Linked DNA regions of Homo sapiens: regions 2 and 3 are each linked to region 1. The links are contacts of gene promoters, found by promoter capture Hi-C in blood cells and fetal thymus (Javierre and others, 2016). All regions are on one chromosome and are shown on one strand. The core of a region is centred on a gene start or on the middle of the fragment in contact, and the rest is flanking DNA. Distances in the headings are between cores, read along the strand shown. Region 1 holds the start of DECR1 (2,4-dienoyl-CoA reductase 1). Region 2 holds the start of LINC01030 (long intergenic non-protein coding RNA 1030). Region 3 overlaps LOC124901975 (a long non-coding RNA gene).

Region 1 (4,102 bases), core at 534-3,033:
GTTTTAATTATAACAACTTGTATTTGCCCACAAAAACATGATGTTCCCTGGAACAACCTCCCACATCACAGATGTAAAGACTTTTCTTCTCCCAGGAATTCAAACTTGAGGCTACATGTGCTAGGAAGGGGACAAACCACACTAACAGGTACCTCTCTTGCCTCCCAACCCTGAACCTCAAAACTTCCATATTTTTCTTCAGCAAAGGAATTTCAAAATTGTCAGATTACAATTAATTTTTAAATGAGTTCATTTTCTCCTTCTCAAACTGTATTGTCTAATGGTGTCAGAAGAGCTTGGATAAGGTCTGTATGACCTTATTGCTACAATCCTAATGATGTGTGTTAAAAAATGAAATCTCTGAAGACATCACAGAGCTGTTGTAGATTTCAAATGAGAAATGTCTCTGAAAAGTATCAGAAAATATGGGCTTCCTTTATAATGATCTATAACCCAGTTTTCACAGGGAGAGAAAAAAAATCAGCAAAACCCTAACCCTGAACAAATCTCACTTTTTAAAAGAAAGATACCTTACTTGAGGGAACCACCATACTAATTCTTTGTATTCCTATTTGGAACTACTGCTGCCCATATTTTTTGAAAAACAACACCATGGCTGTCTATTCTATCAAATCAAAAGAAGTTTTTTCACAGTTGACATATTAATTTTTCTACCTGGCTAAAGAAAATGTGCTTTTTAGTTTACTTATAACAATTTTGTAATTTAGATGTGGGGAGGGCTTGTCTTGGATATTATTGCTTCTTTTTGTTTTTGTTTCTCTTTCTTCTTCCTAGCTGTTTTCACTTCCTAGCTATTTCCACTATGGGTGCAATGGAGATGGTGACAGGAGTGTGGGCCAGAGAGAGGGGGAAGCCAGTGTGAGACGGACCTCTCCCAGCTATACATCTGGGAAGGGGAGTCTATAAACAGCTGGGGTTTTGTTTTTGTTTCATTTTTATGATAATTTGTTTGTATTAGTGTTTAATTCCATAACTAACACATAGATGGACTTTCCTCACAACAAAGGACGTCAAAGGTCAGTGCTCGCTCGGCCTGATCCCCTCTCACTCCTTAAGGGGTGGACGGGCGCCGTATCCTTCCCTACCTCTTTCTACCTATTTACACACAAGTTGGAAACTTGCAGAACTGTGAAAACTTCGAAAATCACGTCTCTTCCCTATTCCCCTACACACATCAGGGCTTCATCTGACAGTGGAATACGACCCGGGCCCCGGTGCTCACTCCCGGCGTTGCCCTTCGCTCCGGGACCTGGTGGTCCTCTCTCTCTGCGCCCCAAAACGCCCTGTCCTAGCTCCCTGAGCCCCAGGGACGCCGGGTCCTCTCTTTGTGCCCCAAGACTTCCTGCCCTTTCTCTTGCGCCCCGAGACGTCCTGTCCTCTCTCTCGCTCCCCGGGTTGCTCTGTGCTCTCTTAGCGCTCCAGAACGCCCTGTCCTCTCTCTTTGAGCCCCGGGACACCCTGTCCTCGCTCCCCGAGGCCCCGGGACGCCCTGTCCTCTCTCTCTCTGCGCCTCGGGATGCCCTGTCCTCGCTCCCCGAACCCCCGGGACGCCCTGTCCTCTCTCTTTGCGCCCCAGGATGCCTTGTCCTCGCTCCCCGAGCCCCCGTGACGCCCTGTCCTCTCTCTTTGCGCGTCGAGACGCCCTGTCCTCGCTCCCCGCGCCCCCGGCCGCCTTACCCTCCGAGGAGCGAGGCCACAGGGCAGCCGGGACCCCAGAGTAAAGAAAACCCTGGCCGGTAGCTTCATGTTGAGTCTCCAGAACTCGGGCCGGAAGGCGGCGCAGGCGGTTGGGCGCAGGGGGCGGGACAAAAAGAACAAAGTTCTCGGGGCTGGAAACGCTGCCTAGGCCGCCGGGGGATGGGACGGGGACTGGGACCCAGGCGGCGTGGACGCCCAGCGGCCCTGACCTTCAGAGTCCGGCCGAGGGCGCCGCCTAGCTGGGCCTAGCTGATGCTCTTTCCTGCTCTCTGGGCCAGGAGTGCTTTGTATGGCAGAGAATGGAGGTTCTTTGCGTCCTTGAGCGGGTGTACGAAACCCCGCGCCCTGCAAGGGTTTGCAGATTGCAGCTGCGCACCCCATACACTGCCTATCAAGGGCGAAACTCTTTTTCAGTCGTATGTGTTTATCCCTTAAGTGCGTGTTTAAGTGCAGAGTGCGCGTGGCGCCAAGTCACATATTATCAGAATAATAATATGTTGGATGTAAAACACGGCCTCACTTTCCCTAAGACCAAGAGGCTGAAAAACACTAAGGGCAGCTTCCGGCGTTTTGACTTTTCGCAGGACACACCGCCCCCTGTCGCCGGATGCAGCGTGACTGCGACCGCCCAGCCTTGGCTTTTTTCTCGAAGTTAAACACACGTTAAAGGCAAACACAGATTCAGTATATCATTCTCCATCTTAGTGTAATATACCTGTTGACACAAGGCATTAGCTCAGATCACATTTCTTTCCTCATTCGTAAAATGAGAATATTCATAGCTAATTCAGAATTTTAGATAAAAGAAGATGGGTGTGAGGCCCCAGGCTGAGGCTGATGGTAGATGATATTGAGTGTTTACTATTTGCCTGGCATGTTCCAAATGCTGATAAAGAAACATTTATATCTTCAGAGGAATGTACACTTACATGTAGACATATAGCTTATAAGGTATATAAACTCTGAAAAACTTTGTAATTTTGAGTTGGTCTGGTGATAATTTCCAGGCCTTCTGCCTGTAACTGGTTACAGAAATAAAAACTTTCTTCATCCCCAGTTCATCGACATCTCATTATTGGCAGCAAGAAATAGCAGCCTGACCCTCAGTTTGGTCCAGGAACAAAACTACCACAGATTGGGTGGCTTAAATGGAAATTTGTTTTCTCACAATTCTGGAGGCCACAAGTCAGCAGAGTTGGTTTCTTGTGGAGCCACTGTGGGACCATCTTCTCCCTGTGTCTTTACATGATCCTCCTGTGTACCTTTCCATATCTAAATTGCCTCTTCTTATGAGGACACCAGTCGTGTTGGATTAAGGCCCACCCTCAATGACCTAATTTAACTGGAATTACCTCCCTAAAGACTCTATCTCCAAATATAGCCACATTCTGACATACTGGGGGTTAAGAGTTCAATGTATATATTTGGCTGGGAGAAGAGGGAAGTACACAATTCAGCCCAGAACACTTGCCCTCTTAAATAACTTTTAGACCAGCTTAGGAGGCATTTTCTGTCCTCCCAAAAAAACCTTGAGAATATATCAATAATAAAACTTTTCCTAAGCTCTTGATATATGTATGGCACTGTTATTCTTGACTTCCAAACCAAATTGTAAGTGGGATTCATCTTGTTTCTAAAAAGAAGTTGCAACATTAGTGATACGGTTTGGATTTGTGTCCCTACCCAAATCTCATGTTGAATTGTAATCTCCAGTGTTGGAATTGGGGCCTGGTAGGAGGTGATTGGATCACGGGGACAGATTTCTTCCTTTGGTGCTATTCTCCTGATAGAGTTCTCAGGAGATCTGGTTGTTTAAAAGTGTGTGGCACCTCCCACCCTCTCTCTTCCTCCTGCTCCAGCTGTGTAAGACAGCCTGCTTCCCCTTCATCTTCCACCATGATTGTAAGTTTCCTGAGGCCTCTCAAGTCATGCTTCCTATATAGCCTGCAGAACTGTGAGTCAATTAAACTTCGTTTCTTTATAAATTACTCAGTATGAGGTATTTCTTTATAGCATTGTGAGAATGGAGTAACACAATAAGTAACTTAAAACAATTAATCATTTATTATCTCACAGTTCCCAGGAGTTAGGAGTCTAGGCACAGCTTAGCTGGATCCTTGGCTCTGGGTCTCAGAAGACTGCAATCAAGGTGTCAACTAGGCTGTTTTTATCTGGAGGCTCAGCTGGAGAAGATCTGATCCCAAGCTCATCCAGATTGTTTGCAGAATTATTTTCCTCATAACCATATAACTGACAGCCCCACATTTTTGCTGGATGTTGGCTGGAGTTGCCTTCAGCTTCTAGAAGTCACCTCCATCCCTTCCCATGTGGGCTTCCTCAGCAGACTGCTTACTACATCAAGCCAGCAAGGACAATTCTGTAC
Region 2 (4,102 bases), core at 830-3,329, 600 kb before region 1:
GTGGACCAATCAACTCTCTGTAAAATGGACCAATCAGCAGGATGTGGGTGGGGCCAGATAAGGGAATAAATCAGGCCGCCCCAGTCAACAGCTGCAACCCGGTAGGTTATCTTACTCAGCTGTGGAAGCTTTGTTCTCTCAGTCTTCTCAGTAAATCTTGCTGCTGCTGACTTTTGGGGTCCGTGCTGCGTATGAGAGCTGTAACACTCACTGCGAAGGTCTGCAGCTTCACTCGTGAAGTCAGTGAGACCACAAACCCACCAGAAGGAAGAAACTCCGGGCACGTCCAACTGCGGACACACCATCTTTAAGAACTGTAACACTCGCCGCGAGGGTCTGTGGCTTCATTCTTGAAGTCAGCGAGACCAAGAACCCAGCAATTCCAGACACGGTAAGACTGTAGTTCTCTCATATTAAAGTCACCTGGAGAACTTTAAAAAAAAAAAAATAGCCTATACCTGGCCATTACCATCAATTAATCATAATCTTTCCAGGTAAGGCTTGGGCGTTGACTTCTATGTAAGAGCTCCAGCTAATTCTGATGCCTAGTAAGAGGGTGAGACTGGAAAACCGCAGAGGAAGGGCTTTTCAGTTAAGATAGGAGTGAGTGAAGCCTACTTAAATACTGAGAGAGATAAACCTTCTATAATTTATATTAGTGTGTTGTAACTCATTGATTAGAGATACCTTTAGCCTATATCACAAGATACTGGTATTATACAAGTAAATGCAGCATTGGTCTGGGAGTTAAGAAACATAATGCATTTTAATTCTCACTCTTGCCAGTTAGCTACATAATTTTGTGCAAGTAAATGATTTCCACATGGGCCGGGGGCGGTGGCTCACGCCTGTAATCCCAGCATTTTGGGAGGCCGAGGTGGGTGGATCACGAGATCAGGAAACCGAGACCATCCTGGCTAACATGGTGAAACTCCATCTCTACTAAAAATACAAAAAATTAGCTGGGCGTGGTGGCGGGTGCCTGTAGTCCCAGCTACTTGGAAGGCTGAGGCAGGAGAATGGCGTGAACCCGGGAGACGGAGCTTGCAGTAAGCCGAGACTGTGCCACTGCACTCCAGCCTGGGCGACAGAGCGAGACTCCATCTCAAAAAAAAAAAAAAAAAAAAAAAAAAAAAAAAAAAAAAAAATTCCACATGTATACAGTGTGGAGGCTGAGATCCTTTACCTAAGGTCCATTTCAGTCTAAATTTGTTTTAGTTTTCAACCACCTTTTTAGCAGAATCATGGCTCTCTAGAACAGGTAACTGATTTGTCCCCGGGGTTAAATATAATTCCAACTCTAATCAATCTTAGGATGCTTTAACATTTTTTCTTTAATTTCCTAAAAAAAAAATCAAAAGATTCATGTGATGAAACACATCTGATACCCTCCTTGGAGAACTGCAGGGCTTAGAGAAAACTCATTCTGTGTTCTCTACCGTCAGCATTTTTATTCCAGTGAAATTTATTTTAAAATTAGTTTAATTTTAGAAAAACATGTTTTAAACCTGAAAGTAATGAAGATTATCTAGTTCAGATTTTTCATGTTGAAAAAAGGGTATTTCCTAGGGTGAGAGAAAGTTAGTGGCAAAGCATTTCAGTATTTCCTTGTCCCATTCTGTGCTTTCCATGCTAGTCAACTCAATGGCAACAGGAGGCCAGCAGAAGCAGTGACAGAACAGCATCCAGCCTGTGTTGCCTTGGTGATACGGGAGGCTCCAGAGCACCTTTAGAACTTCCTAATTTATTGAAAGTTTTACTCCACAACTACTTAAACTACATACAATTTGATTAAAGCTGAATTCTTTAAAAGTATTAAGCTGGGCTGGGCACAGTGGCTCACGCCTGTAATGCCAGCACTTTGGGAGGCCGAGGCGGGCAGATCTCGAGGTCAGGAGATCAAGATTATTCTGGCTAACACGGTGAAACTCCATCTCTACTATAAATACAAAAAATAAGTCGGGTGTGGTGTCACGCGCCTGTAGTCCCAGCTACTCGGGAGGCTGAGGCAGGAGAATCACTTGAACCCAGGAGGCGGAGGTTGCAGTGAACCAAGATCGCGCCACTGCACTCCAGCCTGGGTGATAGAGCGAGACTCCGTCTCAAACAACAACAACAACAAAAATATTAAGTTTTGGAAAATTGCATATCTAATAATAACAAATAGTTTGAGACTCATGGTATATATATATGGGGTGTGTGTGTGTGCGCGTGTGCCACAATTCCTTAGTTTTAAATCTTTGCCATTGAAATAAAAATGAATTTTAGGGTATTTAGTTAGTGATACACAGAAAAGTTTGTTACATGTCAAAGTAGATACACTTTCTACTCAGCAAAAAAAGCAAAATCTTGAAAAATACAGAGACATGTATAAGAAGTAATTGAAAAGAAAGGAAAATTATTCCTAAGGAATAGTTGCAAGCCTTATCATATCTCCTGGCTGTATATATAGGACATTAGGTCAGACATAATTTTTGCTCTAGCATTAGTTTCAAGTTTAAGAAATGATAAAGTTCTGGAGATGCATGTATTCATAATATGCTTTCAGGGTTAAAATGTGTGCTAAACACTTAGGAGCAGATGTTATCAATGGAATTCTTCGAATTTAGCTTACAAACCTTTTGTACTTATTAATTTGATAGACACAATTAGAAACAAAGGATTTATTCAAACAGATCAAAAGAAACAATTGTAATACTATGGAAAGATTGAAGTGTATATAGGAACTACTTTCACTAGTCTTTTAACCTAAGGTTCTGAATTACAGTGCTCAATGAGTTAACTCTGATGTCAGAGAAGTGAAACTTGATTTGGCTTCGGATCACAATTTTTGTGCTACATTCCCCCCCACCACCAAAAGTTATGAAGTGATGATAACATACGCAGACGACCTAAGCTATCCATTATAGACACTTGAGAAACGTGAATTTCTTTCCTCACTGCTTTGCTTTCTTTAAGTGACAGAATTAATGACCATTTCTGCAGGACACACTGTATGGAGGAACATCCAGTGACAAAAGAGGCTCAAATATTTTCACTAAGGTGTAAGAGACCAAATAATTTACAATTACGTGGCCAGGCACGGTGGCTTACGCCTGTAATCCCAGCACTTTGGGAGCCAAGGCGGGTGGATCACCTGTCAGGAGTTTGAGACCGGCCTGGCCAACATGGTGAGACCCGGTCTCTACTAAAAATACAAAAATTATCTGGATGCAGTGGCGCGCATCTGTGGTCCCAACTACTTGGGAGGCTGAGGCTGGAGAATTGCTTGAACCCGGGAGGCAGAGGTTGCAGTGAGCCGAGATCGCGCCACTGTACTCCAGCCTCGGTGACAGAGCAAGACTCCGTCTCGAAACAAACAACAACAAAACAATTACAATTAGTCTTTTTTGAGTGTCAGTTACTCTTGACTAATAAGTTAAGAATTAGCTTGTTTAGGTGCAGCTGTTACCATTTGGTAACACTTGAGTACATTGAATTTCTTGGCTTCATACTTCTGACAAATGAGCTGATTTAATTCGAGGTCTTTTAACCTCTGGATTGATAAAGCATTTTTTTTTTATTTTACTTTAAGTTCTGGAATACATATGCAGAACATGCAGGTTTGTTACATAGGTATACATGTGCCATGGTGGTTTGCTGCACATATCAACCCTTGATAAAGCATTTTTAAATTTTGTAATCAAATTAGAACTACCTTTCTTATTATGATTTACTGTATTTCATATCACCCCTTTAGAATAAAAAAGAAAAAAGATGCCCTATTGCTTTTCTTACAGGGCTTATTATATATTTGTTTTGTATTTAAATGTCTAACTTTTAGTTGGGAATGAGTAGCCAGGACTGTGCCTTTATTGTGAGATGAGAGAGGCCAGTTGAGTCACATCACGTATTGATTTCTTTCAACTTATCCTATCAATGTAGTTTCCTTACAATAAATATTCCAAAGCATTGTTCTTGTTTTTTAATTAACAAAATGATGCAAGGATCATCTGCAATAAAATTTTGTGAAAATGGCCAGGAAAGCTTTAAAATTATAAAGAAGGACTTCCTGTACCAAAATTTAATATGTAAAGTCATGGAAATCAGAAGAAATAGACTA
Region 3 (4,102 bases), core at 676-3,175, 550 kb before region 1:
AGGCAGGAAGATTGCTTGAGCCTAGGAGCTCAGCACCAGCCCCAGCCTGAGCAAAATAGCAAGACCCCTATCTCTACAAAATTTTTTTTAAAAAAATAGCCAGGCATTGTGGTGTGCACCTGTAGTCCCAGCTACTTGGGAGGCTGAGCTGAGAGGTTCCCTTGAGTCCAAGAGTTTGAAGCTTGCAGTGAGCCATAATCATGTCACTACACTTCAGGTTGGGCAACAGAATAAGACTCTGTATCCAAAAAAAAAAAGAGGGGAGGCTGGAGAGAGAAAAGACTTTTAGTGCTAAAACTTGATAGTCCCAGGAAACGTGGGATAGTTGGTCATTTTAATCTGCCACATCAGACCTACTAAAACAGAAACTCTGGAGGTGAGGCGTAGCTGTCAACATTTGAAGACCACTGGTATAGCGTATTCTGAAACTGCATACTTAAAGGCTGTTTTAGTCCATTTTGTGATGCTTATAACAGAATATCTTGAACTAGGTAATTTAAAATGAACAGAAATTGACGGACTCATGGTTCTGGAGGCTGGGAAGTTCAAGATTGAGGGGCTGGAATCTGGCAAACCACCTTTATAATCAGCGTTAATCCATTCTTGAGAGCCAAGCCCTCATGATCCAAACCTCCCATTAGGCTTCTCTCCCAACACTGTTGCATTGGGGATTAAATTCCAACACCTGCTTTCTGGGGGACACATTCAGACCATAGCACATACTGATAAACAACCACATGGAAAATGTGGCCTGAAGAGAGTGAACAAAGGGAAAATTATGGGGGAAAGGAAAACATCTCTTTTTTTCAACAGAATGACTATGGAAACAAACAGAAGCATGCCTATTGTATTTTCAAAACTTTCCTAACATTATTATCTAATATAATGAAACCAGATAAAGGCTAACATTTATCCAGACAGAACTTCTGAGTTCATAAAATTTAACTAGCCAAATGACGATTTTTAGTGATCATGCATTTTTAGTTCCCTCATTTTACTTTAAGGAAACCGAGACTCAGAAAAGTTAAATGACATATCCAAAGCCTCACTGCACTTATATGGCAGTGTCAAGATCAGACTGATATTTCCTCCAGGCAAGGGTTATGTTTTTACTTAGTTGTATCATCAGCCCATAGCAATGTTTGGCACATAACAAGCTCTTGCCAATCCGTTAAATGAATACATGAATGAAGACTCTAAGATCTCTTGCCAATGCTCTTTGTACAAACTCAAAATTCCTTTAAATCAGGTCACATTGTTCTCAGTGTCATACTGGTTGGAGGTACCCAAGTTAGCTGTTTAGTCTTGAGGACTCAAAATTAAAAAATGTTTTGAATTAAATTAATTCTTTCTTTCTAATTGGCAGCCTTTCTTGGGCATTGGTTTTGTTTTGTTTTATTTTTGCAGTACTGATTGTCTGGGCATTAAGCCTACTTGGAATTAACTTGCATTTGTTTTCTCTTGCACAATTTCAATTTAATATAAATGTGGTCAGTTTATAAATTGCTGTAGTTATTACTTTATTTACTAGAATAAAAATGTCCTAATCTAGCACAGACCTTGTTAACCATTACGGGGTTAAGTCAGACCTCTGAGTTTTCCTTCTGCCTCTTACTAAATGATCCTAATACTTTGGACAAACAGTCGGTCAAACAAACACAAACACACCCACTACAACTAGAAGTGAATTTAGGGATCAGCTCTTGTAGCCTCATTTCGATACATAAGTTGAACAACAATCTACTGTGGTTTGCCTGGCAATATCGTCCCAGTGTAATTATTAATAGGGCCCCCCTTCATTGCTAAGTGTCCCCATTTGGACAATTAATTATGTGATCACCCACCATATGAGGAATTTCAAGTCTGGAGAGTTGATGTGATCTAACCCTTAGACATGCAGTAGGTTAGTGACAGAACTGGACAAATTTTTAAAAATTGCTTTTCTTTACCACTTTACATATTAATCTGCTTTTCTAACAGTTCAGAAAGGGATGGTTTTTAGTTTCCAGTTTTGATTATAAATATCACTGCAATAATTTCACAAAAATATAGCATGTCTACATTTCCCACTTAGAATCCTAGAGGATTTCACAAGATTAGTTTCAGTCTAATGGCATTGTATTTAAAGTTTCTGATTTTAAAATTCAACTTACATAAAACAATCTCATGCCAGCAGTAGGGTGGTGGAGAAGCATATAGATTCGGCAGCCAGATGCCTGTGTCTACATCCCAACTTCATCAATAACCAGCTCTATGGCTCTCATTATTTTGTGTTTCAGTTTCCTCATTTGTAAAACAAGAATGATGATGGTAACAATAGTATCTAATTCCTAGAGTCTTTTGAGAACAAAATAATTATATGTGAGTTGTATGTAAAGGACATACTGTCACCTGGCACATAGCAAGCACCATGCATGTCTTAGCTTTGAACACTGTTTTTATTATCTCATCTGCCATGAGCCACTCTTCCCTGATGTGCACTTCATACTCCTGCAGTGATAAACCTTGGCCAGATCATGTAGCTTTATGAACCCTGCATGCTCCCAAAAGTGAGTATTACAAAGGCAGAGGCTTTGTGATACTGTATCCCAAGTAACCAATTTCCATACTGGTTACTTGTATCCCAAGTATGGAAAAGACAACAAGGTAGGCTCTTAATACATACTTCTTAAATAAAAAGGAATAAAAGGATGATTAAGTTAGTTGACCTATATAGAAGACAGCTACTCCTGTTCCACATTTCTCTTGTAACTTCACCTCACCTCCTTTAAGAAAAATAAATCCCACAAAACCCTGGATTTTGCAAAGAATCTTGCAAAGAGTCTCTGACTAAGGAATGGAAGAAGACAAACTGAATGAAGAGGCAGTTAGGGATGTGGACACTAGGGATAGAATCCGATAGGGAATTTTCCTGCTCTTTTGGTGGTCCATTGTACACATATCTTTAGAATTTTAAAATCTCATTTTTCTACACTGCCTGTAATTCTAAAGGTTGGACAGTAATTTACATTAATAAGTATCTTCTTTGAAAGACCAGAAAACCTATAGGGAGGGTAAAAGTATTATTAGTCAAAAACATTCATACATTTGAGTTCCATCTGATTACACTTTTCCTGACACCAGCTAATTCACTTGCACTGAATTTATTGGAGGTTTTTACTGCTAAAGTGGAGAAGATGGAAGGAGGAATAAAAAATTTGGAGCATGGTATACGTCATGGATCAGGGATCAAGCCTGGAAGTGATTCTCAGACAGGCTTAGAACCTGGAGAGAGAGGAAGTAAGAGATAAGAAAGAGGTATAAAAGGAGAGAGGGATATTAAAATAATATGCTTTCTTGGTTCCAGGATTTATTTTTCTAGAGCCATCGTTAAACATAAGAAATAGAAGGAAAGTTAATTTTTCTGACTTATTTTCTCTCATAACTATGTGGACACTGCTTCCGTCATAGAGTTTATAATAAATAATAAGAATAGCAGAAAAAATTACATATATATATGTATATATATATATGCAGACATACAGGCAAGAATGAGTCATTTATTTAAAAACACAGCTGGACATAATGAGGGAGAAATTATTGTTAACTGATCTATTGTAATCAAAGGCGATAGAGGTAAGGCAAGTTCAAAATAACCAATAAGCCGAATATTTCTAGACCTTAAGCTTCTTGGATATGGAAACTAAGTCTTAGTTATTACTGGGTTACCAGCATCTGGCCCAGGGCCTAGCACAGGGCCTCTGTAGAATGAATGAGTGGATGAATTTTGGCTTCACAATCAAGGCAGTGACATGTTTATTCTCCCTTTCTCATTTTTCTCCTCTCTTCCCCCTTTCACCTTTCTCTTGGCTTGCATCTGGTCCCTTCTTGACTTACTTCTATTTTCTGAGGTAAGAATTCTTCGAAATTTTTTACTCCAGCTTATGTTAAGGCCACAGACTATGTAGAATCCCAAACAAACAAACAAACAAAAAAGAGGGGAACAACCACCGAGCCCAACAAACGGCCCACATAGAAGCAAGACCCACTACAGTGCTCTGCCCTTAAAGACAACGTCCTCCTTTTCAGCTTTGCCTTTTGGTTCAGATTTTTGAGAAACTCT

Evidence for each region. The method cuts DNA at HindIII sites, captures the fragments that hold promoters and counts their contacts. A CHiCAGO score of 5 or more calls a contact.
Region 2: a contact is called between a fragment that was not itself captured here and the fragment with the promoter of DECR1 in region 1, in 7 of 17 cell types (total CD4 T cells, total B cells, naive B cells and 4 more). The highest score is 10.4, in total CD4 T cells.
Region 3: a fragment that was not itself captured here is called in contact with the fragment with the promoter of DECR1 in region 1 in 13 of 17 cell types (naive CD4 T cells, total CD8 T cells, non-activated CD4 T cells and 10 more); the score reaches 12.4 in naive CD4 T cells.

Annotation. Positions count from the first base shown.
Region 1 is chr8:89,999,158-90,003,259 of GRCh38, reverse strand. It overlaps DECR1 (2,4-dienoyl-CoA reductase 1), which reads right to left and starts at 1,783. Exons shown (of 10, transcript NM_001359.2): 1 at 1,699-1,783. The coding sequence starts at 1,767. RefSeq lists enhancers at 1,157-1,296, 2,145-2,439 and a silencer at 1,767-1,866. The HindIII fragment of the contact is 6,361 bases long and covers 1-4,102 here.
Region 2 is chr8:90,602,057-90,606,158 of GRCh38, reverse strand. It overlaps LINC01030 (long intergenic non-protein coding RNA 1030), which reads left to right and starts at 96. Exons shown (of 3, transcript NR_104062.1): 1 at 96-391. The HindIII fragment of the contact is 3,898 bases long and covers 131-4,028 here.
Region 3 is chr8:90,549,564-90,553,665 of GRCh38, reverse strand. The region is part of intron 2 of LOC124901975 (a long non-coding RNA gene); the gene reads left to right. Among named protein-coding and RNA genes, the nearest start is that of LINC01030, 54 kb to the left of the region's middle. The HindIII fragment of the contact is 3,484 bases long and covers 184-3,667 here.